Regions from separate parts of the Homo sapiens genome. Here all the other regions are linked to region 1. The links are contacts of gene promoters, found by promoter capture Hi-C in blood cells and fetal thymus (Javierre and others, 2016). All regions are on one chromosome and are shown on one strand. Each heading gives the region's core, a stretch centred on a gene start or on the middle of the fragment in contact. The rest is flanking DNA. Distances are from core to core; before and after follow the strand shown. Region 1 holds the start of LINC00636 (long intergenic non-protein coding RNA 636). Region 2 overlaps LINC00882 (long intergenic non-protein coding RNA 882). Region 3 overlaps MYH15 (myosin heavy chain 15). Region 4 overlaps MYH15 (myosin heavy chain 15). Region 5 overlaps MYH15 (myosin heavy chain 15). Region 6 overlaps MYH15 (myosin heavy chain 15). Region 7 overlaps MYH15 (myosin heavy chain 15).

What was found. Contacts are between HindIII fragments. The CHiCAGO score rates a contact against its expected background, and 5 or more counts as called.
Region 2: a contact is called between a fragment that was not itself captured here and the fragment with the promoter of LINC00636 in region 1, in 1 of 17 cell types (non-activated CD4 T cells). The highest score is 5.3, in non-activated CD4 T cells.
Region 3: a fragment that was not itself captured here is called in contact with the fragment with the promoter of LINC00636 in region 1 in 5 of 17 cell types (neutrophils, activated CD4 T cells, erythroblasts and 2 more); the score reaches 7.8 in neutrophils.
Region 4: a contact is called between a fragment that was not itself captured here and the fragment with the promoter of LINC00636 in region 1, in 11 of 17 cell types (M1 macrophages, M2 macrophages, megakaryocytes and 8 more). The highest score is 11.5, in M1 macrophages.
Region 5: a contact is called between a fragment that was not itself captured here and the fragment with the promoter of LINC00636 in region 1, in 4 of 17 cell types (erythroblasts, monocytes, megakaryocytes and 1 more). The highest score is 6.4, in erythroblasts.
Region 6: a contact is called between a fragment that was not itself captured here and the fragment with the promoter of LINC00636 in region 1, in 3 of 17 cell types (activated CD4 T cells, total CD8 T cells and M1 macrophages). The highest score is 5.8, in activated CD4 T cells.
Region 7: a contact is called between a fragment that was not itself captured here and the fragment with the promoter of LINC00636 in region 1, in 8 of 17 cell types (M2 macrophages, activated CD4 T cells, M1 macrophages and 5 more). The highest score is 7.4, in M2 macrophages.

Annotation. Positions count from the first base shown.
Region 1 is chr3:107,881,775-107,884,876 of GRCh38, reverse strand. LINC00636 (long intergenic non-protein coding RNA 636) reads right to left here and starts at 1,672. Exons shown (of 3, transcript NR_015394.1): 1 at 1,571-1,672. The HindIII fragment of the contact is 1,611 bases long and covers 370-1,980 here.
Region 2 is chr3:107,222,046-107,225,147 of GRCh38, reverse strand. The region is part of intron 1 of LINC00882 (long intergenic non-protein coding RNA 882); the gene reads left to right. All of the region lies in intron 1 of LOC124909404 (a long non-coding RNA gene), which reads right to left. Among named protein-coding and RNA genes, the nearest start is that of LINC00882, 17 kb to the left of the region's middle. The HindIII fragment of the contact is 2,586 bases long and covers 392-2,977 here.
Region 3 is chr3:108,495,523-108,498,624 of GRCh38, reverse strand. MYH15 (myosin heavy chain 15) reads left to right here. Exons shown (of 41, transcript NM_014981.3): 6 at 480-573; 7 at 2,753-2,845. Among named protein-coding and RNA genes, the nearest start is that of MYH15, 14 kb to the left of the region's middle. The HindIII fragment of the contact is 2,061 bases long and covers 383-2,443 here.
Region 4 is chr3:108,474,692-108,477,793 of GRCh38, reverse strand. MYH15 (myosin heavy chain 15) reads left to right here. Exons shown (of 41, transcript NM_014981.3): 12 at 1,279-1,397. Among named protein-coding and RNA genes, the nearest start is that of MYH15, 34 kb to the left of the region's middle. The HindIII fragment of the contact is 193 bases long and covers 1,506-1,698 here.
Region 5 is chr3:108,457,672-108,460,773 of GRCh38, reverse strand. It overlaps MYH15 (myosin heavy chain 15), which reads left to right. Exons shown (of 41, transcript NM_014981.3): 17 at 407-474; 18 at 1,325-1,412. Among named protein-coding and RNA genes, the nearest start is that of MYH15, 51 kb to the left of the region's middle. The HindIII fragment of the contact is 2,330 bases long and covers 280-2,609 here.
Region 6 is chr3:108,436,968-108,440,069 of GRCh38, reverse strand. It overlaps MYH15 (myosin heavy chain 15), which reads left to right. Exons shown (of 41, transcript NM_014981.3): 24 at 157-333; 25 at 2,371-2,516. Among named protein-coding and RNA genes, the nearest start is that of MYH15, 72 kb to the left of the region's middle. The HindIII fragment of the contact is 7,935 bases long and covers 1-3,102 here.
Region 7 is chr3:108,414,756-108,417,857 of GRCh38, reverse strand. It overlaps MYH15 (myosin heavy chain 15), which reads left to right. Exons shown (of 41, transcript NM_014981.3): 29 at 928-1,046. Among named protein-coding and RNA genes, the nearest start is that of MYH15, 94 kb to the left of the region's middle. The HindIII fragment of the contact is 7,305 bases long and covers 1-3,102 here.

The DNA.
Region 1 (3,102 bases), core at 423-2,922:
GATCTTACAGAAATTTGCTTACAACACTTTTATGGTCTTCTTCATTTTTGCCTTTTAGTGTAGGTGATTTTTGTATATGTCTTGGCTCTCTCTACTAGAATGATAACAACTTAAGAGCAGAAAAGATGTTTTTGTTCTCCAAAAATTACTTTGGGATAGAGCTGAGACACACAAAAAAAGAGGGTGCTGAATTTCTTATGTCAAATCAGGCAGCAAAGATGTAAGTTACAATATAGCTAGAGAATTCAGATTCCATCTATGGAAATCAAATAATACAAAGTTGAAAATGTAGGTAAAGATGAAACTTGACAGACACATGATAAATTGAGTTGTGAAACTAAATTGTATCCCAGTTGAGATCTACAAGCTTGGAGTGTGCCAGGGATGAAGCAACTAAAACCAGATTATAGGAGGAGACTTGGAAGGTATTATTTGGTGGCTTAGGAAGTACCATTCTTTAAGTAACACCTAGATAGTGTCCCCAGGCCACAGTCCCTACCCCAACCTGAGTTGGTAACCTTCTGATGATCCCAAGTTTTACACAAGTAACCACAGCAGGCCCTTGATGATGGTTACTTGGGTAACCATCCTCTTAGTTGGGTAACTAAGTGTCCAACTCCAGGAAGTATAGATTTAAGTGGAATTGATTTTTGCATGTGTAAGCTATTTTATAGTCATTGTGTTGCTTCATATATGCTTTATCTGCTTTAAGATGTTTGAAATGGATAAGAGAATCTGCTTTATTAAATTTGTCTAATTTATTAAATTTATTAGATTTTCACAAAGATTGCAAATATCTTGCATGTTAGACTTGTAAGTTTGCTTAATAGGTGTTTGAATTATTTGGGAGAACTGGTTTTCAAATTGGTAATAATTGTTTGAAATGTCTAAAAATATCTAGTTAATAAAGTTTCTATATACTGTTAACATTTGAGAGATCTGATCCATAAAATTTATAAACTAATTGAGCATTAATTAAATAACAAATGAAGTTAAGTGCTTAAAATTCTTACACCATTATTAGATTTGCAAATATAGCAACAAGATTTGTGAGTTAAAAGTAAAGGCTTATAAAAACTAAGTTATAAAATTTATACCTTTTGTCAGTTCAACATTAACACAATCATAAGAAACTATCAGCATTAACTTCTGTGCAAGAAAAAAAGTCACATTTTGGGAACTAAAAACCCAATTACCATTATTAAACACTGAAGAGCAATATAACTGAAATGGAGATGAATCATCATAGCTATCATTTATTAGTTCCAACCACATAACAGTTCTGTGATAAGCTCTGCATTTGTGAGTTTGTTCATTTGTTTGTTTTTGAAGGTCAGAGATAATATAACTAAAGTATCTTGCCTCTTAAGTATATGTTAAACTGAACTGACAATCTTTTTAAATCTAAAAATATTACTTCACATACCAATCACAGTTCCTTTGCTCACAGGTAACAGAAAATCGGTCTAACTGTTTAAATCATAATAACAGCAACAACAGTAATAATATAAAGATTTTGTGGTTCAAGTAATTTAAGAAACCCAGAAATGGAAGGAGGTGTACTACTTACTTGGATCTCCCTTCAAAAAAGAACAAACTATCCACGTGTGCAGGATGCCGGTAACTGACAGCCGCCAGCCAGTGGGCATTAAGGGTCCTCTACAGTGTTGAGTTGGAACAACAGTGTTGAGCTTTCTCGACAGCCCTGGCGAATAAGTACAGTGGGAGTACTAGTGTCTGGGCATTTCCGCCCATTGTCATACTCTTCCAACAAGCAGCTTTTGCTCTAGATCTCCCTTTGGTGCTGGCAGAGACTTTATGAAATCTGCATCACAGTTTGAGGCCCTTCCTGCCCAATCCTGCGGGGTTTCCCTTTGTTTTCACAGGTGTCAGGCCTGGATCAAGGTCTGAAGGGTTTTGCTGCCCATATATTTCCTGTGCCTTGCTTTTATCTTTCACAAACATTACCTCAATAAAGCTTGGACACTGGTAATTCCATCTCCATATCTGCTTACCAGATGACCCTTCAGGTAAGCTTGCTCCAGCAGTTTAATGATGTCCCAGGACCGACTTCCTTTCTGTGTCTCAGCCTTCCCCAGTGGCAGAATAGCCCTAAAACTATTTTGATAGCTTCACCATATCAACATAGTTACCAGAACAACTGGGGTGGTTGCTTCCTGATTCACAACCAGTGGATGAAGGGAGCATCTTTTTTTAGCATCCATGAAAGACAGAATAATTTTATTCTCCAGATGCTCCCCATCAAACATCTTCTCTCTTTTTGACAAAGTTTGGATCATAATGCCATCCCAACCACTGTAACTAGGGCCCATCCCTGGAGCTGCTGTGAGATTAGTCCCAACCAATCTGCATGTCCCCATCAGAAAGGGAACAGAGAGAATGAATGCTGGGGAGGCAATCACTAAATTTCCATGACTACGAACATAAGCATCCTCAAACAATATCACACCACGGAATTAGTCTCATGAAGACACCGCTGCTACTAACAATGTGTATAGAAATTGGAGCATAAACCACTAAGAATACAGGCTGTAGAGGCCAGAAACCATTGGAACTGCACCGCTGCAGTTTCTGGAAGCTGAATGTCCTGTTGCTTCTGTTCCCGGTGTTGCCAGAGTAGACTCTGTAGAGTTCTTCCTTCTTCAAGTCACTGTATTTAATTCAAACACGAGCTGGTGCATCCTGCAGGCAGAGCCTACAGCTTGAGCCAATGTACTGGTTTCAGGAGAAGCAAGGGAGAAACTGTCTATTTCATCCCAGAGTGGGAGAATGTCACCTGTGGCATCACATGCAGAAGATTCCAGATTCTGGATTCTTTTGCGTTTGCTTTAGTTCTGCTAAAGTCTCCTGTGTATGATCCTCAGAAAGACATATGAGGGTTTTCCTCAGAACCTAAATTCTGTGAGTAAAGAATGCACTAGTGCTGAAACATTTGGGGCAAGAACAAGCATCAGTCACAACCGTCAACAATCACTCTCAGTTTTAACTTCTTTGGGGAAGCTGGTTACCGTACTTAAAACACTTGTATTCCATTTTGTTTTGTTAGTAAGACAAAAATGTATTGCCTTTATTAATACCAAA
Region 2 (3,102 bases), core at 435-2,934, 660 kb after region 1:
TAACAGAGCTGAATGCTTGATAGTTCCTTAGGGTGAAAGGATGAAGGAAGTGATGAGAGAGATTATAGCGGGTAGCAGTCTAGGAAATAGAATTTAATGCCTACTTTCTTCAGTTCACTGCTTAAGCTACATAGCCATATGGCTTTTAATGTTTAGGGTTCCAGAACAAAAAGGTACACACACTCACAGTTGGGGTCTTTATAGAAACAAAACTCATGTCTGTTTTGATCTATGCCATGCAGAGTGCTGTGAAATTCCCATTTTCAAGCAAATGGTCTGAATTCTGATGCTAAATGAATAAAATTTTCCCTGGATCTCATTAGCCCGCACTTGGGAAGGAGGGGAGTCGGTTAATCTATTTCTTCTTGGCTTTGTCTGAACAAATCAAGCTTTGAATAAGAGGTTTAATTTTATGAAGACTGAAGTTACTAATTTTCATTGAGTACCTCTGTTTTACAGTAATTTACACATTCTTTTGAATGGTTGTTGGAATATTTACTTATTGTCCTCTGAGGCATTTTCTAATTACTTGTAAGCAAGGCTGAGGAAAAAGAAAATCCAGAAAAAACGTTAAGAAAGGGACTGTTTGGTAGACAAGGTGTATTACACATAAAATTAAAATATAATGGATACTTTTAAAAGCCTTTAGTCCATTTTATAGCTTTCTCTGCTTCTGCAAGTACATAGTAAGTGAAGATTTCCCAACTCATTATTCATTTCTACATGATGTTAGACATTTTTATGACCTCCTAGAGTACTTATAATCTGTACTACACAATTTAGCAGCTAATTATATTATGTTCATTATTATGTCATTATAAGTTCTCATCCCCTCAACTAGATTATATGATCTTAAAAGTCAGAGAGCATGTCTTCTGTATTCACATTCCAACTAGCATAACCACCACTTGGGGCATTTTAATTGATAGAAGCATATTGAGTTCTAGTCCCTCAAATTTCAGTGAATGTTATCTGTGGAGCACCTGTCACAGCTCTGGATATAGGGGCAGAGATAGGCAAGTTACTTTTTCTTTCCCAAGGAGTTTGTCAACAAGTGTTAAGTACCAAGTACTAAGGCGAGGGATTACTTTGACAGAGTGACTTCCTTTCTCTTTTTCCTTTAGTGTCAGAACAGGGCAGAGGAAAAGCAGAGAGCCTTGAGCCACCATGTCATTATCATTTTGATGTAGATGGATTATTGGCATTTTTTTACTTCTCTAGTTGGACAAAACCTAATGGTGTCTGACCCAGGAAGTCTTACTTGTCTGAGCCACTAGGCTAAATGGTTGGCAGAATTACATTTCTCTTGTTTTGAGTAAGCATCGGGGTATCAGACTCACATTTTTTTATTGTGATAAGACATACATGACATAAAATTTACCACTTTAATCAGTCTTAAGTGTACAGTTTAGTGATATTAAGTACATTCACATTGTTGTACAATCACCACCATCATCCATCTCTGGAACATTTTTATTATCCTAAACTGAAACTCTGTACCCATTAAACAAACACTTCCTATTCCTTCATATCCCCATTGCCTGCTAACCACTATTCTACTTTCTGTCTCTATGAATTTGACTATTCTAGGTACTTCATATAGGTGGAATCATACAGTATTTGCCCTTTTGTGTCTGGCTTATTTCACTTAGCATAGTATTTTCAAGGTCCATCCAAGTTGTATGAGGTGTCAGAATTCCATTCCCTTTTAAGACTGAGCAATAATCTGTTGTGTTGTAATAATCCATATATATAATATCTACATTATATATATATAATGTTTTGTTGAACCATTCATCCATTGGTAGGCATTTGGTTGTGAATAATGCAGCTATGAACATCGATATACATACTGATCCCCATTATTCTGAACACCAACACTGACTTAATGCTCATGGTGAGCAAAGTACCCTTCTTAGCCGTTAAAATGCCTGGAAGAGTCAGTGAATCTCTGGAATTTCATAACTTGAATTCAGACTTAAATACTCATTAGGAAAATATGACTTGGCAACATTTTTTAGATTAGGATCGTGACCAATACTGGGATTCAGTAAATATGTCCTGTTTATTTGTCCTTCAGAGTGTTTCCTGTGTCCATTTTTTTTCTATTTTCTCATGACTTAATTGTATATCCTCATTGCTAGGCAGCAGGACTCCAGCAGTCACATTCTAACTGGTCTCTCCCTTTCTGATTTTTCTTATAAAATGCTGCTTTGATCGTTTTACATTACTGGACAAAAATTTTCAGTGGCTCCTCATCATGTACAGGACAAAGCCCAAGCTCGTTTGCCTGGCACATAGGCCTCTTGGGATCTGGCAGCAGCGTACCACTCAGGCCCTACTTCTCTCACTTCATGTAGAAACTCTGCCCAAGCCAACATTGTCTTCTCATTACCCTCTGAATAAATTATCATTTTCTTGGATTTTCTCACTGCTGTTTGTTCCATCATGTATAAACATTTGGATGCTGTCTTCAAGTTTTAGCTTAAATATCAGCATCTCTGCTAACTTTTTTTTAAAAAAAGATTTTGAAATGATTGCTTGCTCTTTTGAATGTGTGTGCATTTATTGTAAGACTAATCATGTTAATGATGTTTTTGCAATAGCTAACATTTTTGAGCCCTTGGGCTAAAGCTAAGTGCATTACTTGCATTATTTCATTCATTTTTATAGCATTTTATATGAAGTATATACTATCATTATCCATTATACAGATGATGAATTTGAGGCTTTGAGATGCTAACTTGTCCAAAATCACACAACTGTTAAGTAACAGATCTAGGTCTTGATCTCAAGTTTTTGCCGCCAAAGCATCACTTAAGATGTATATTTATTGCATTAATTAGATTATAGGCCTGTAAGTGAATAAGGGCTTTACTGAATCCCCCATGGGAGCTACCCATCAGTGGTCAAAGTCAGTAAAAGGCTGCCCATTGAATAGAAATGTTTTTTAAAATTAGCTCACTGTGGATAAGCTTAGCATGATTTTTCAACTGGTTACTTCATACTGTTTCTTCAAGATGAGGAAAGCTTCACAACTGTTCATGTTTGATTAGGCGCATTCCTGAGGCATGTCTTTCTGTCATAGCACTGACCACACTG
Region 3 (3,102 bases), core at 164-2,663, 610 kb before region 1:
TGTGCTCTTCCCACATTGCAAAGTTAGCTGGTTGTCAAAGGTAAGGTAAAGCCTAAAGCCCAACTGCCTGGTGAAGTGATTGGTAGCCCTCTTCTGAGAAGAGGGTTGGACTTGGCTGTGTGGTAGCCTTCATACATGAAAATCTCTTGAACAGCTGGTAATGAGGAGACTTGTCTAGTTAGAAGAGGTGCTTTCCTGCTGCTTGTTATTAGGACCACAAGGAACAGGCTTCCTAATATTTACAAAAAGTTGTGATCTTTCTAACTCCAGATTTTTGCTCATGCTGTTTTTCCAGCCTGAAATGTCCTTGCCCTTCTCCCAACCAATTAAATGTCAATATATCCTCAAGTTCCATCTGAAGCTCTACTTTTATGTAAAAGCTTCCCTGCTTGCCATAGCCTATATAATCAAAATTACCTAACTTTCGTTGCATTGATAATCAGAACCAGTTAACTGTATCACTGAATTTCAAATCACAGAGGAGAATCTGGTGCTGGAAAGACTGTGAACAGCAAACATATTATCCAGTATTTTGCCACCATAGCAGCCATGATTGAATCCAGGAAAAAGCAGGTAAGTGTTTATATAGCTTGGTAGAAAAGATGAGGTGGCCCTATCCACTGGATCATGGAGGTTGTGTCCGGACCACTTTTGGGAAGTGAGGCCACAAGCACCACAGGACAATTTGCAAATTATAGAAAAGTATTTTTTTAAATATTTCCTTTGGTCCTTGAGAGGATCATCAAGTGCTCCAAACAATAACATGAAAACATGAATTATGTAATTAATTTCACATCTGCTTAAAGGGGCATTTTCTGGCCTGGTCTTTGTTTATTGGACCTGTAAGTTAAGTCCTCAAGATTCAAACCATCTTACCTAAAGGCTAGGGTCATCAGTGGCTTGGATATTTCTGAATCCCTTTAGCTACTGTGAGATATCAGATTCCCACAAATATGCACCAATAAAATTTTTCTTCATTCATACCTAACTCCTGGATCAAATTCTAAATGCCCAATGAATATACCCCTCAATGTTAATCACATACCACATTCAGAAAAACTTTGCCTTCCCTATTAAAAAAAAAATCCTTGTTCATTTTAGTTTAGCTTACTTTGTTTAGCTCCATTAACATGTTAATGGACATCATAATAACTTGAGGATAACTAAGACCATAAACATTGGTATGCAAAATAAAATCAGGTAATGCTGAATGGAACTCAAAATCAATGAGTTATTGAGCTGTTAGACCTCTCATTTTTCTATGTCTGGAATGATTATTTTGCTTTTTTCAATTCGATACTGGATGTTTGCTGTTTTTGCAAAGTAAGAAATATATTAAAATAGCCATCTGACCTAATTTTTAAACTATAGAAGTTTCTTTTTTTTACCACCACGTTCCTGAATTTGATTATTGATTTCTTTGGGTATCATTGAGCTCTTTTTTTTTTTTTTTTTTTTTTTTTTTTTACGGAGTCTCGCTCTTTCGCCCAGGCCGGACTGCAGTGGTGCTGTCTCGGCTCACTGCAACCTCCGCCTCCTGGGTTCACGCCATTCTCCTGCCTCAGCCTTCTGAGCAGCTGGGACTACAGGTGCCCGCCACCGTGCCCGGCTAATTTTTTGTATTTTTAGTAGAGACGGGGTTTCGCTGTGTTAGCCAGGATGGTCTCGATCTCCTGACCTCGTGATCCTCCCGCGTAGGCCTCCAAAGTGCTGGGATTACAGGCGTGAGCCACCGCCCCTGGCCATCACTGAACTCTTTTATTCACTAGATGTAACTTTGTTTTTACAAGCATTTTAGATGTTTGTGGTTTTTTTTTTTTTTTGGTGCGCATTAAATGGTTTGGTCTAGCCATTGAGTTTTATGATAATATATAATACAATACATAAATATAACACTCCTATGGAAATCCTTGCTCATATATATATAATGTTCTCTAACTTATTTGAAGGACAGTAAACCCATATTACTGAAAAGGGATATAATATTTATAAATCCATAAATTATTGAGTACAGTATACTATATAAGTCCCCCCATAAGATGGGGAATATTATATAGTAGTAGGGATATAAGAAGGGATATAATATTTATAAATCCACAAATTATTAAATACCATATACTACATAATTACCCCCATAAAATTGGTCTTTGAGGCTGACTGGAAAACAACAAAGCCATGTAGATATGGTAGATAGGTAGATGATCTGTTTTTGCCTATCAGCCTGAGCACACGTGATTCAAATTCAAGATCAATACTATTAAAAGTCACTACTCATGTGAACCTCTAGATTACTTAGGAAAAGAAGCAAGCAAAAGTATAGTTTAATAACACCAAGAGTCTGTTGTATTATCCTAGGATAAATTTCCAAGTGCAAAGATCGGATGGGAAGAGAGGAAGATTAATGATGGGGGAAATATATGATATGTTTGTCTGGAAATAAGCTTTGGTATGTTTTTCTTTTTTATTTGGTGACCATTTGCTTTTCCCCCTCAGGCCAATGCCAACCAAAAAAGAAGCATTGCAAATAAACGAGCTCCCACATATTCATAGGGGTATTGTATATTGTTAGCCTCTGTCATCCAACTGTTTTTCTGATTTCTCATTCGAAGATAATATAACCAAATTTGGAAGCAGCTTTTGGCCATTGGTTATCAAAGCAAGAATGGGGTTTGACCTGGAGATGGAGGGCTTGCCGCATTACAGAATTCTACTAATAGTTTCATCAGCTGTACTTCTCTTGCATGTGTCTCAGGGGGCGTTAGAAGATCAAATCATGCAAGCGAATACTATCTTGGAAGCATTTGGAAATGCTAAAACCCTGAGAAATGACAACTCCTCTCGTTTTGTAAGTAACATGATTTAGCATAATATCAAAGTATTTAATTTGTAAGCAATGGTAAAACTTATATGTAAGCACATAGGTATGAAAAAATTATAGAACACCAAAGAAGGTCTTTGATTAAAGTCTGTAATGTTAGATTTCTCAAAAAAAATTACTATCTATATCATTAAGACAATTAAATTTTTATAAATAAATATGCATTTTAGGAGTTTCTATTTGGTCAATTTCAAGAAAAAAGCATTTATCTTAATAGTTTCAAA
Region 4 (3,102 bases), core at 353-2,852, 590 kb before region 1:
TGTTTCATAAAACAATTTTGTGGGGTGTAAGTATTATTGTTGGGCAGCAGAGGGCACTACGGAGCAAACAGAGACCTTGCCGGGAAAGGAAGGGTGTTTTACAGATAGCTGGCAAGTGTCCTGGCTTCTGTTGATTGGTGCTTGTCTATAATTATCAGATTACATGGCCCAAGTCCGTGTTTTGTTGAAAGAGTCCACAAGTACATACATAGAAAGAGAAAACAAATTATAAAGATGGCATTTTCCATGTCCTTCAGACAAATTATATCTCAATTTTTAAAAGATTCTGTTTCTTGATACTAGTCCTCTTTTAGAAGATTCATACACCATAATATTCACCTTTTAAACTGTATAGTTATTGGGTATTAGTATATTCTCAAGGCTGTGCAACCACCACTATCTAATTCCGGAACATTTTATTATCACAAAAATAAACTTTTAGTAGCAACTATTAGTAGTTATTTTGATTTTTGCTTCTCCTCAGCCTGTGGCAACCAAAATCGACTTTCTGTCCTTATGGATTGCCTGTTCTGAACAGTTCATAGAAATGGAATCCTGCAATATGTGGCCTTTCGTGTCTGACTCCTTTCACTTAGCATAATGTTTTCAAGTTTCAGCCATGTTGTAGTGCACATCAATACTTCATTTTTGTAAAATGACTAGCAATATCGTATTATATGAGTATACCACATTTTTTAATCCATTCATCAGTGATGGACATTTCACTTTTTCCCACCTTTTGACTATTGTGAATAATGCTGCTAGAAACATTTGTGTACAATTTTTTGTGTGAACATATGTTTTCATTTATCTTGGGTGTGTACCTAAAAGTGATATTGCTGGGTTCCATAGTAACTCTATGATTAACTTCAGAGTAACTGTCAAACTGTTTCTCACGGCAAATACACACCATTTTGCATTCCCACCCACAATGCATGAGGGTTCACATTTTTCCACATCCTTGTCAACACTTGTTATTGTCTGCCGTTTTGATTATAGTCATTCTAGTGGCTGTGAGTGGCATTATATTTTCTTTTTCCTTAATGCCAACAAACTGAAGAAGTGAGATTTCAATGTGGCTTTGACTTGTATTTCGAAGAAATAATTTCCTTTAAACTTTTAGGATTCAGGCATTTATTTGAAAACTACAATCTACTTTGCTACGCTGATGTAAACACACTATCTTTCTGTCCTCTGGGTAGTTAGTTTGGCTATAATGGAATGAATCTTAACAGTGTTTTCCTCTCTCCTTCCTTTTCTTCTATTTCTGATGACCAGATGCTGACAAAGCTGCTTTCCTCATGGGCATTAACTCCTCTGAGTTGGTAAAGTGCTTGATCCATCCTAGAATCAAAGTTGGTAACGAATATGTTACCAGAGGTCAAACTATAGAACAGGTAAGGTGATATTTCAAGAGCATTATTATTCTATGATCTTCCAATAATTGTATATATATTGTACTGTATATTTTTCAACTACTAAGGATGTTTGCAATAATGAAAGCTTCTATAAATAAGCAAAAAAGAGCTCTTGGGATGACTATTCCAAATGTTTTTACTTGTGATGCACACCACAGTAAATGCTCTTGTCTGAAACATACATTTTGAAAGTTTTCCCTTAGGTAGCAAGTATCTTTGCAGATGCAGACAAACCCTCCACTTGTTGTGATCAACATCTTTGTCATCCAGCGAGGAAGCTTTCAAAGCTGTTCATTCCTAACATGGATAAAATTGGCAAATTGGCATGCTTCACGTATTTGGCATATTGGCTCCTTTGGCATAAAAGACACATGGTGACACGTTAGTTGAGAAACAGTTTTAGGACATATGCTAAAAATCAATATTTGAAAGGAGGTGTGTGTTGAAAACAGAAATGAGAGATGGAACGCCATGCAGATTTTGTTTAGCATCCAGGAGAATGTTATAGTAGAGAATAACAAATTCTTTGAGGCTTTGCCTTAATGCAGTAAATATTCCCAGGGCCACTGGGTAATGAGACCATCTAAGCATGCTAGTATGTTTCAAAAATAATAATTTATATCTGTAGTGTGTAAGGGAAAATATGAGATAAGCTGGGCTGCAGTAATGCACACACACTAAAATCTCAGTGACAACAAAATATTTCTTACATCAAGTGCAATACAGAGTATACAGCCTTCTCTGTTTTGTAGTTCTATGTAGTTCTTTGTAGTTCTATGCCATCTGGGACACACGGCCTCCCAAGTGACTGCACAAGGAGAAAAGATCATTTGCAGAGAAAGTACAACCACCTTTAACTGCTTGGGCTAGAAGTAATATCACTTTCACTAACAGTCCATTGGTAAGAATTAGTAAAATAATACCTTTAGCTACAGAAAGGGGCTGAGAAATGTAGCCTTTCTGGAAAGAGGAAGTGGTGTCACACATAGTATGGATAAAGCATTCACAGTATTATTGCCTTCTATTCTTACAATAATACTCAGAGCTAAGTAGGGCAGAAATGCATAATTTATGTTTTTCCTAGTTGAGGAAACTGAGTCAAAGAGAATGTTAAGTAACATTCCAAAGGATATATAGCTAGTACTCAGGTGATACTGATTGTCTTACTCAGTATACACCCTAACTCTGAAAAAGAGATAGACAAATGTACAAATTTGTAATATAAGACAGTCATCTTATATATGATGACTAGAATAGATGTGTTTCCCTTGGTATATTAAGGTAACTGATGTGTCTGTGTTATTTAAAACATTTAAATGACTGATCAAAATCAATTTATTAATTTAGCTTACTCTATAAATGGATAATTCTACCTCTACTATAATACTAACTATACTATATTGAAATAATCTGCTTAGATTTTTGTCTTCTAACCTCTTTGAAGCATGAACTGTGTCTAATTCATCTTAGTACTCCAAGCATCTAAAACAATGCCCTGTAAGCCGTAAGTGCTCCACGCATGTTAAAATAGACTACATTGAGCTAAACTTGAATCACGATCAGCAGGACACATAACTGAGCTATTTCTTGGCAGGGGGTTAGAGTTGTTCAGCAGTTTCATACCTTCTTAGACATTCACCACAACATGCATGCATGACATGCTATGTTTATAGAACAGGGTTTT
Region 5 (3,102 bases), core at 195-2,694, 580 kb before region 1:
AACTTTTTATCTAAAAACATCCTAGAAATCTTTCCATATAAGTTATATGGATCCACATCATCATTTTAAAAGCTTACAGTGTTTCACTGTATGCATATTCTCTCATAAATTAATCTCCTATGATGTGCATTTGTTGATGAATTTTATTTTTGCTTAATTTTTTTGCAATGACTAAATAATGCTTCAGTGAGTATCATTGCACAGTTGCCTGATTATATCCTTAAGGAAAAACACTAAAAATATACATTTTGTGATAAAAGACATAAATATTTTGAAGCTTTTGGTAGATATTGCCATATTGTTCTAGAACTCTGGTGAATTTATGCTTCCATCAGTGGGGTAGGATAATGTGATAAAAATGAGCTTTTTACATGTTTTCATCTTTTTCTTTTTTTTTTTTTGCTAGCTATACCATTTGGGGAGAAGAAACGAAAGAAAGGAGCTTCATTCCAAACGGTTGCATCTCTGCATAAAGTAATTTTTAATTGCGTCTATTCATATATTAATTGCCTCACAATCTGCATATGTTATTATTTAGTTGACATTTCACATCTTCAAATAAGGATAAAGTATCAGGAGCTAGCAAGTTGGAAAAGTTGAAGTTTATGCTGTTATTATCAAGGGCTTTAGAGGACACTGTTTGTTCCCACTTACATCCCCTTTATCATGCCTGCACCCATCTTCCAGCTGATGTGCATATTGGCTCATAACAACTCTGAGTTGTCAGAATTGCACTTAGCCAAAGGGGAAACTAAGCTGCCTCTTTGCCCTCCTCTCCAGACTTTAGCCTCTCCCTTGCCTCAAGGGAGACCACCTATGCTGCAATTGGTGCATTCGTGTTTACAGCTCTTGCTTGCAAGGATCAGACTAAAGCTGAGTCTGAATCATTGCTTTTCTCTTCCCCTGCTGTTCCCAGCTTTCTTCACTCCCTAAAAATCTCTTGAACCAGAATTCCCATCTCAGGTTTGGCTTCTAGAGAATCTGACCTAAGATAAAGGTTTTCCACAGAGAGAGAACTTGAGAAACAATTTCTTTTTTCAAGCCATTTTATAGCCCAGCCATAACTTTGATATTGCTATCAAATTCAAAATAGGTAGAGATGATTCACAATTTAACTATGTCTGTCAAATAAATATTGACTTGCCATAGGAAAGAAATAATGTGCATTTGGTAGGCAGTAAAGAATGTTGAATTCATTATTTTACTGTTAGAATACATCTTGGCTGTGAGATTAAGTTGATAGATTTGGAGACATTTGTGAGGTGGATTGGTGTTTTTAGTGATTTGCAAAGTGATTTTGTGTTTATTATGGTCTCCATTTTAGGAAAACCTGAATAAATTGATGACTAATCTGAAATCAACAGCACCTCATTTTGTGAGATGCATAAATCCCAATGTGAACAAAATACCAGGTAAGAACTAGATTTCTTTGTAATTCACACTAGGAAATAGATTTGATATTAGCTATATTGAATATCTTTTAAAGAAATATTTATTGGTGCCTTTTATATAAGGGTAGAATTTCATATAGAAAAATGAAAATATGTTAAAAATGAGGTCTTTGGAACCTCCTCAATATTGCCATTGAAATGGATGTACAGAAGGGTTTCACAAAGCGGTCTCAATTGGGCAACATTAGAATGTTTGATATTACTATTTAAATTCTTCCTTGAATTTTATGCTGAACATGAGTGAGCTCCCATGCCATTGTCTACAAGGACAAACTATAATAAAAATGGAATTGAATAATCAATTAGGGGATTAAGGTAGATATTTCAGCATAAAGGAAGTTATTTGGTCTGAGTTATCTAAATTGACCATAAAGACACTTCCTAAATCCATTTCTAATTGTTGAGAACACCCTCTAGTCCTCCTTGCCAATGCCAACATCTTCTTCCCTCTTTCTAATAGCATTCATTTTTTTTTTTAGTTATGTAACTCTGGGTAGTGGCTATCTTTTGATCAGTGAATAGTGGTAGGGGGATGATGTGATAGGTGGATGGTAGTGATTTTTTTTTTTAATGTTTTCAATTCCCCAAACAAGGGTTTTACCAAAATTAACTACATGGATTGCTTTCCTTACTTCATGAGCTTGAAGATTCCCAGCCACCTCTTTGGAGTTACTGGCCCCTCTGGAGCTTGGTTTGGAGGCTGTCAGCCTCCAAGGAATGTATATGACAAGCCCTATGTCTTCAGAGCACTAACCACCCTTATAATACATAGCCAGATGTTGCTGGTTCTGATCTCTGAGGTTCCATAGTAGCTTGCATTTTTATTAACCTCCTGTAATTAAGACCCCAATCCTGACAGTCTATGGCCTATTTTGGGAAAGTGTGATACAAAACAATGATGCTGCAGTTTGAGTTTCTGCGATACAAATACTTTCATGTTCATTCACGGCTGTATGTTTGTGCCTCATTGTTTCCTATCAGCTGGGTTTCTGGATGTGTCTAGGGACACTGCTTCCATCTATCAAGGAATCTAATTAGCTGAGTTCTATTTTGGAGCAATTCTGTTACCTATTAGAGTTGCTTCCCATCGAGTCAACTTGGATTTCAGCAGGTTTGGTTTTTTTCTTAAAGTCATAAGACAAAGTCATAAGAAAAGCTTCATGATCTAATCAAAACAGTTATTCATATGTACTTAAAGAGAATGAGTGAGTCTGATGTTAAGGTGTCATAGGATTCTACTCCCTGTACCCCTCCCTTTTTTAAAAAAAATAATTTGAGACAGAGTCTTGCTCTGTTGCTGAGACTAGAGTGCAGTGGCTGAAGTGCAGTGGTATGATCTTGGCTCACCACAATCTCTGCCTTCTGGGTTCAAGCAATTCTTGTACCTCAGCCTCCTGTGTAGCTGGGACTACAGGCATGTACCACCACGCCTGGCTAATTTTTATATTTTTAGTAGAGATGGGGTTTCACCAAGTTGGTCAGGCTGGTCTCGAACTCCTGGCCTCAAGTGACCTGCCCGCCTCAGCCTCTGAAAGTGCCGTGATTACAGGCATGAGCCGCTGTGCCAGCCTACTTGTGCCTTCTTATACATCATCTGTTTCTATCTGTGAAAGGGATTCGAGTATAGAAATATGGGTATATGATTTAAGTT
Region 6 (3,102 bases), core at 345-2,844, 560 kb before region 1:
GCTTTAGAAAGCGTATCAGGAATTTGGCTAAATACAGCTTTTTGTGACATTGGATACCTCATGCGTAGTTTTGGACGACAGAAGAGAAATGACCCTCAGTGTTATGCCCAACTTTCCAGCAGTGGCTTTAATGAAGCTGTCATCTTCTTCCCACAGGTCAAGAACTTGACTGAGGAAGTAGAGTTTCTAAATGAGGATATCAGCAAACTTAACAGAGCAGCCAAGGTTGTGCAGGAGGCCCATCAGCAGACCCTGGATGACCTGCACATGGAGGAGGAGAAGCTCAGCAGCCTGAGCAAAGCAAATCTGAAGCTGGAACAGCAAGTTGATGAGGTCAGTAACGGTGTATCTGGTTAGTTATCTATCTGTCTACATATACACATAACTCCAGTTTTTACTTCATTAATTTATCTTGACAGTTTCAGAAAAACCTAGTAGCATAGTTTGTTTTCCTGATTATTGAGAATAAAAGGGTTCTTTTTCTTATACACAAAACCACGATAGTATAAGAGAGGTCTCTGCATATAATCTGTCGGTTTTTAAATGCAATTTTCATTCAACCCTGGGCAATGGAAAAAGAACATTAAGATGAATGGTAAAGGGTTATCACTCTAGGTGACTGGCTTTTCCCCATATCTCCCACAGAACCTGGTATTTTGCCCCACAGATATGCTGGTACTCTATTTACCACTAGTGTTGAAGGATTAGTTTTAAAGGCCATGTGTGTTTCCAGTGGTGTGCTGAGATTTATTTATGGTTGAAAGATATGTGAGCCACAAGTTGTGTTCTACCTACACTATTGGAAAATACTTTTAAGATTCTAGAGATGATGCCCCTATTTTGCCTCTAAATGCCCTGTGAAATAAAGCTGTTTCACACCAGTTTCAATGTGTGGGTTCATAATTCTTCCTTTTTCCCACCCCAGCTGACATAGTGTATGCATTTATGCTCACAGTAGTCCCCAAAGTGTAGCCTTTATAAAATTGTTGACAAGAGTGGTTAGGTTTTTTTTTTTTCTTCTTATCTGCTGCTCTTTCTTCCTGCCTCTATATAAATTTCTTCTATTATCTATTCGTTGTGTTACATTTGTTCCTATTTCCAATAATAACATATCTCACAAAGCCTCAGCATAAGGATTTTTGGGTGTTTATATGTGTGCTTATATATGCACATCACACACACCTACCCACACCCACACACCCACCCACACACTTATTCTCTCCTGGTGTCTTAGTCCATTCAGGCTGCTATAATAAAATACCATAAACTGGGTGGCAAATAAATAGCAGTTTATTTCCTACAGTTCTGGAGGCTGGGAAGTCCATGATCAAAGTACCAGCAGAGTTGGTGTCTAGTGAGAACTCATTTCCTGGTTTATGGAGGGTGACTTCTCCCTGTGTCCTCACATCACACAAGGAACAAGGGAGCTCTCCAGGATCTCTTTTATAAGGACTAATTCCATTCATGGGGGCTCTACCTTCATGACCTCATCACTTCCTAAAGGGCCCACCTCCCAACACCATCATACTGGGAATTAGGATTTCAGCGTATGAATTTGGAATCCTTTCCAGAATTTCTCCCTCCTTCCCAATTTGAATTTCATCTCTTTGGCTGGTTACAGAGGATATCTTCCATTGTTTTAAAGTAAACATATCAATAAATAAAAAGCCATATTGTGACTGTTATCTAGCTTCCTGGAAAATTAACCTCTATATAATTCCTGGCAATACTAATCCATACAAAACTGGAATGTTCTGATGGGGAACATTTAGTGAGGAACCAGAATATGACATAATGTTATGAACTGGAAGAGGGTACCAAGGTGGTGACGGGGCTTGGAAATCATGACATGTGAGAATGTGTTTGAATGGGCCAGTGATGCCAGGGGGTTCTTGCAAATTATTAAGGATGATCATGCGGAAACTGATTTGCTTGGTGTTGCTCCAGGGAGCAGAGCTTGTACTTGTGGATAGAATTTACAGGGAATATTTTGGCTTCTTATGAAGAAGCACTCCCAAGTAAATGGACTTATCCACCCGTGAAATGAGCCGCCATGTGAAGAAGTGAGCTTCCTATCATTGGAAAACGATCAATCAAGGGCTCACTGGCCATTTCTTGTTGGTTCCTTCCCTAAGACAGAACTCATATTCTGTTATTTCTAGTTTTCTTCCATCCCTGTGATTTCTGGATTCTTTTGTTAACCTATTGACATATGCAATATTTATTTGGAAATATCTATGTTACTGGGCATCATTTATAGAATTTGTGCTTGTGTCTTTCTTTTTCCAGAAGGTAAGTGGTTAATGAACACATCTAGTGAAGTATAAACTCTACCTATTTATTTAGCTAAATAATGTTTCCTTTTGTCAGCTTGAGGGTGCCCTTGAGCAGGAGAGAAAAGCGAGAATGAACTGTGAAAGGGAACTGCACAAACTGGAGGGCAATTTAAAGCTGAATCGGGAAAGTATGGAGAACCTGGAAAGCAGCCAGCGACACCTGGCAGAAGAGCTGAGGAAGTAAGCCACCTTTCTGTTGACATGAGATTGCTGGAGACCTTATATTAGAAGGAACAGCTTTCTCATTTCATTTATCCTTAGGACTCCAGGGCCAGATAGCTCAAGACCCAAGGCAAGGATAACAAGCCTAGGAAACAATTTTTTTTTTCTTTACTGGACTTTATTTTATAGTTGTAAAGAGACCAGATGCATAATCTAGAAGGACGTAACAGAAAATACCTGACTAGCAAATGAGAAAGAATGGTGTAAGGTATATGAGATGTAAACTTTTGGGAACTTGCAGCTATACGTCAAAAAAATAAAAATGACACTCTTCTTTTTACTCATGACGAGACCAATGGCATAAAATGTAAAAAAAAAAAAAAAAATTGATCCTGATGTGAAGACTTACATACTCAGATTACTTAAATAATATATGTTTGCCAGACATAACTTAATATTTATATAGGAATTTGGTGAAATAATTTACTATATAAATATTAAACCTTAAAATCTAAAACAAGCCATGAAAATGATCAAAATTAGGGAAACTTTCAATTCATCTGGATTCCTTACACCCCAAAGAACTCAGGGCAACTTGGCTTTC
Region 7 (3,102 bases), core at 199-2,698, 530 kb before region 1:
TGTATATATGTGTGTGTTTAAGTGTGTATATGTGTGTGTGTGTGTGTGTGTGTGTGTGTGTATATATATATACATACCTGTACGTGTGTGTGTGTATCTGACACTGTCTCCAGGAAAATAGTGTCAGAATTGAGTTAAATTGTAGGACCTCGGTAGGTTGAATTCACAAAGCAGAACTTACAGATATGGAAGGCCCGACTATAATTAATAGGATAAGTTAAGCAGGGACGATAGACTAGAGTATGATAGAATTTCTCCCTCTCATCGTCACATTTCCTACCATTTAGTGACTACTGCTAATATTTATTTAGCATTTCAGTCTATAAAATATATTCACACTAATTTAGTTTTCATTAAGAATCTTATTGTTATCTTCATCTTACAAGTGAGGTAATAAAAGTTATAATTATCTAAAAATTATATAGACAGAAGTGTACAAAGCCACATATAATAAACAAGGGAGTATGGTATAGAAGAATGTGGTCTTCAAGAACTTCATTTGAATCTACCTTCACCAATTACGAACTGTGTATGTTTCTGTTTCAGTCATATTTAAGTTGCTCTGTTTCCTCCTCTGCAAAATGGTTAGTATAATACCTACACTATCAAGGAGTTATGAAAATTAAACTAGATAACATACGTTAAGTACCTAGAGCATAGAAGTTTCTCAATAAATGGTAACTAATATCATCTGTTATCGATTCATACTTATTACTAAAAATCAGCTCATTTTTAGGACTCTCTTCTGAGTCCTGGAAAGGATCATTGCCACGGTTTTGCTGAATAATAGGACTCTCAGACCCTTCCTAAATATCAAAAATATGTGGGTAGGAGTCATTCTGGCTACCCTTAAAGTCAGTAAGTCAAGTGAAGGAGGCAATAGATAGGAAGACTGTAATTATGTAGTTTTGTGAAATCTTTCTGTAGGCGAGTTCCTACGGAGGCTTGAAGAGAAGGAGGCTCTGATAAACCAACTTTCCAGGGAAAAGAGCAACTTCACTCGGCAGATTGAAGACCTGAGAGGGCAGCTGGAAAAGGAGACCAAAGTAATGTATCTATTATTTCTCACTAGTTTCTTGACTGTGTGTTTTTTTTTTTAAAAAATAGTGCTTGATGAATCAGCCTGAAGATGTTTTGTAAAAGAAGAAGGGAAAATGCCCTAGAAGTTATGGGGGAAAAACCATGCCAGGAAGAACCCTGATGACTGAAGGATCTTCCTCGGTGATTCAAATTGCTTCGTTGCAGGTTTAGAGCAAGCAAAGTGTGTGTTCCCATCTTGTATAAGTACTTGAACAGAAGGGCAGCAAGGCTCTTTCAGGATTTTGATTTTGAAACTGCTCATAAAAAAGTGAAATTAAATAAAAGCCTAGAATAAAATAAGTGGGACTGGGTTAGCTCAATATTACTTTTAAATTGTCAATAAATTATAGAAATTAGTCATTTCTTCCTATGAGTGTATAATGTTGCTAGAAGGTGACTCCAGTGGAAGTGATTCTGGAAGATGAAAGCATAGTGACTAACATGAGATATGAATTCTTTGAGCCCTGATATTTAAATGAATTCTTAGTTCATAGTCAAGGCATCTTATTACTAAGACCCCAAACTATCTTACTTGTACATGACCATACTATGAAGGCGTATACTGTGAAAACACAGGTAGTTGAGTCTGTTTTAAAATATTGTACCATTTTATTCCCTTAACTCTCCATACTTTCTATATTATATACAAATTTAAAAATGTATCATTGTTTGTGCATCAGACATTGTACCAGATACTTCTGTCATGTTATCTCAATCTTCATATCAGTCAAATGAAGCAGATAGAATTGCATCCTTATATATGAAAAAACCAAGGCTCTGAGAAGAAAAATATCATGTCCAAGGTCATACACCTAGTGATGTACTGTGAAGGAACTTAAACGCATAGTGAAATGAGTTATATTTTAGAAGATCTCTCTGGCTGCCTTCCCAGTGACTTCCAATTGGCCTACAAGCCCCCCTGATCTGGCTCCAGCCTCCTTCTGTGACCTACTTCCTACATCTGCTTCCCTCATTTACTCCCCTCCAGCTGCCCTGGCTTCCCTTCTGCCTCTTAAACCAGGCACCATCACTCCTGCCTTAGGACTTTTATAACTGCCCTTCCCGTTGCTTAAAGGCCCTTCACCGAAGTCTTAGAGGGATGATGAGAAGGAGCCAAACATTCTAGATCGTGTTTATCTGCTGTGTTTGTTTTACTGCTATTAGAAATTTTATTTATTAATGTATTTGCCTGTGTATTTTGTGTATCCCCTTATTTCTTTTGGGCTCTTTAGGGCAGGGATTTTGTCTTTGTCTTGTTTACTTCTATAATTAAATATATGCCATGTAAATGCCACATAAAGGTTTTAAAAGTTTTTCCTTTAAAGAAAAATAAAATTAAACAAGAGGAGAGGTCACAGTTTGAACCCAAGTTCATCTGACTCCAAAGCCTGCATCCTTTTCAGAGTCATTGTGTATTGTGGCTCCTCATTTACCACCCAAAGGGGTCTGGCTGAGGCTGCCATTAACTAAACCTTGTGCCCTCAGAGCTGTATCTTCCTGAAAATGTGCTTTTTTCCTAATTTGCATAAAGGACACTTGAGGACCCGTCAGGATCTAGTGTTCTTTCCACACTAGATTATCTCTGGGGAATAATGCTGCTAGGTTAGCCAGATCACCATTTAAATGATAAAAATGTTTATTAAACCCAGCAGGGCCGTCCAATACATATAGAAGCCTCTACTACACTACAGGTAACTATTTAAATTTATATTAAAGTTAAATAAAATTAAGAATTCAGTTTTGATCACACATTGTACTAGGCATATTTTGAATGTTCAGTAGCCACATGTGGCTAGGTGTTTACCATATTGGACAGTGTACATAGAGAACATTTTCACCATTACAGAAAGTTCTGTTGGGCAGTAGTACTATTTTGAAGTATTAGGAGCTGAGGTTTTTAGAGATTTCAGTGTGAAATAAAAGATTTTATTTTCTTCATCAGTGGAATAAAAAGGCTAAATTTTAGTGGTTCTTTCTGGTTCAAACAAGCTCTGAGTCTAATATATTGCTAAATATAAATCT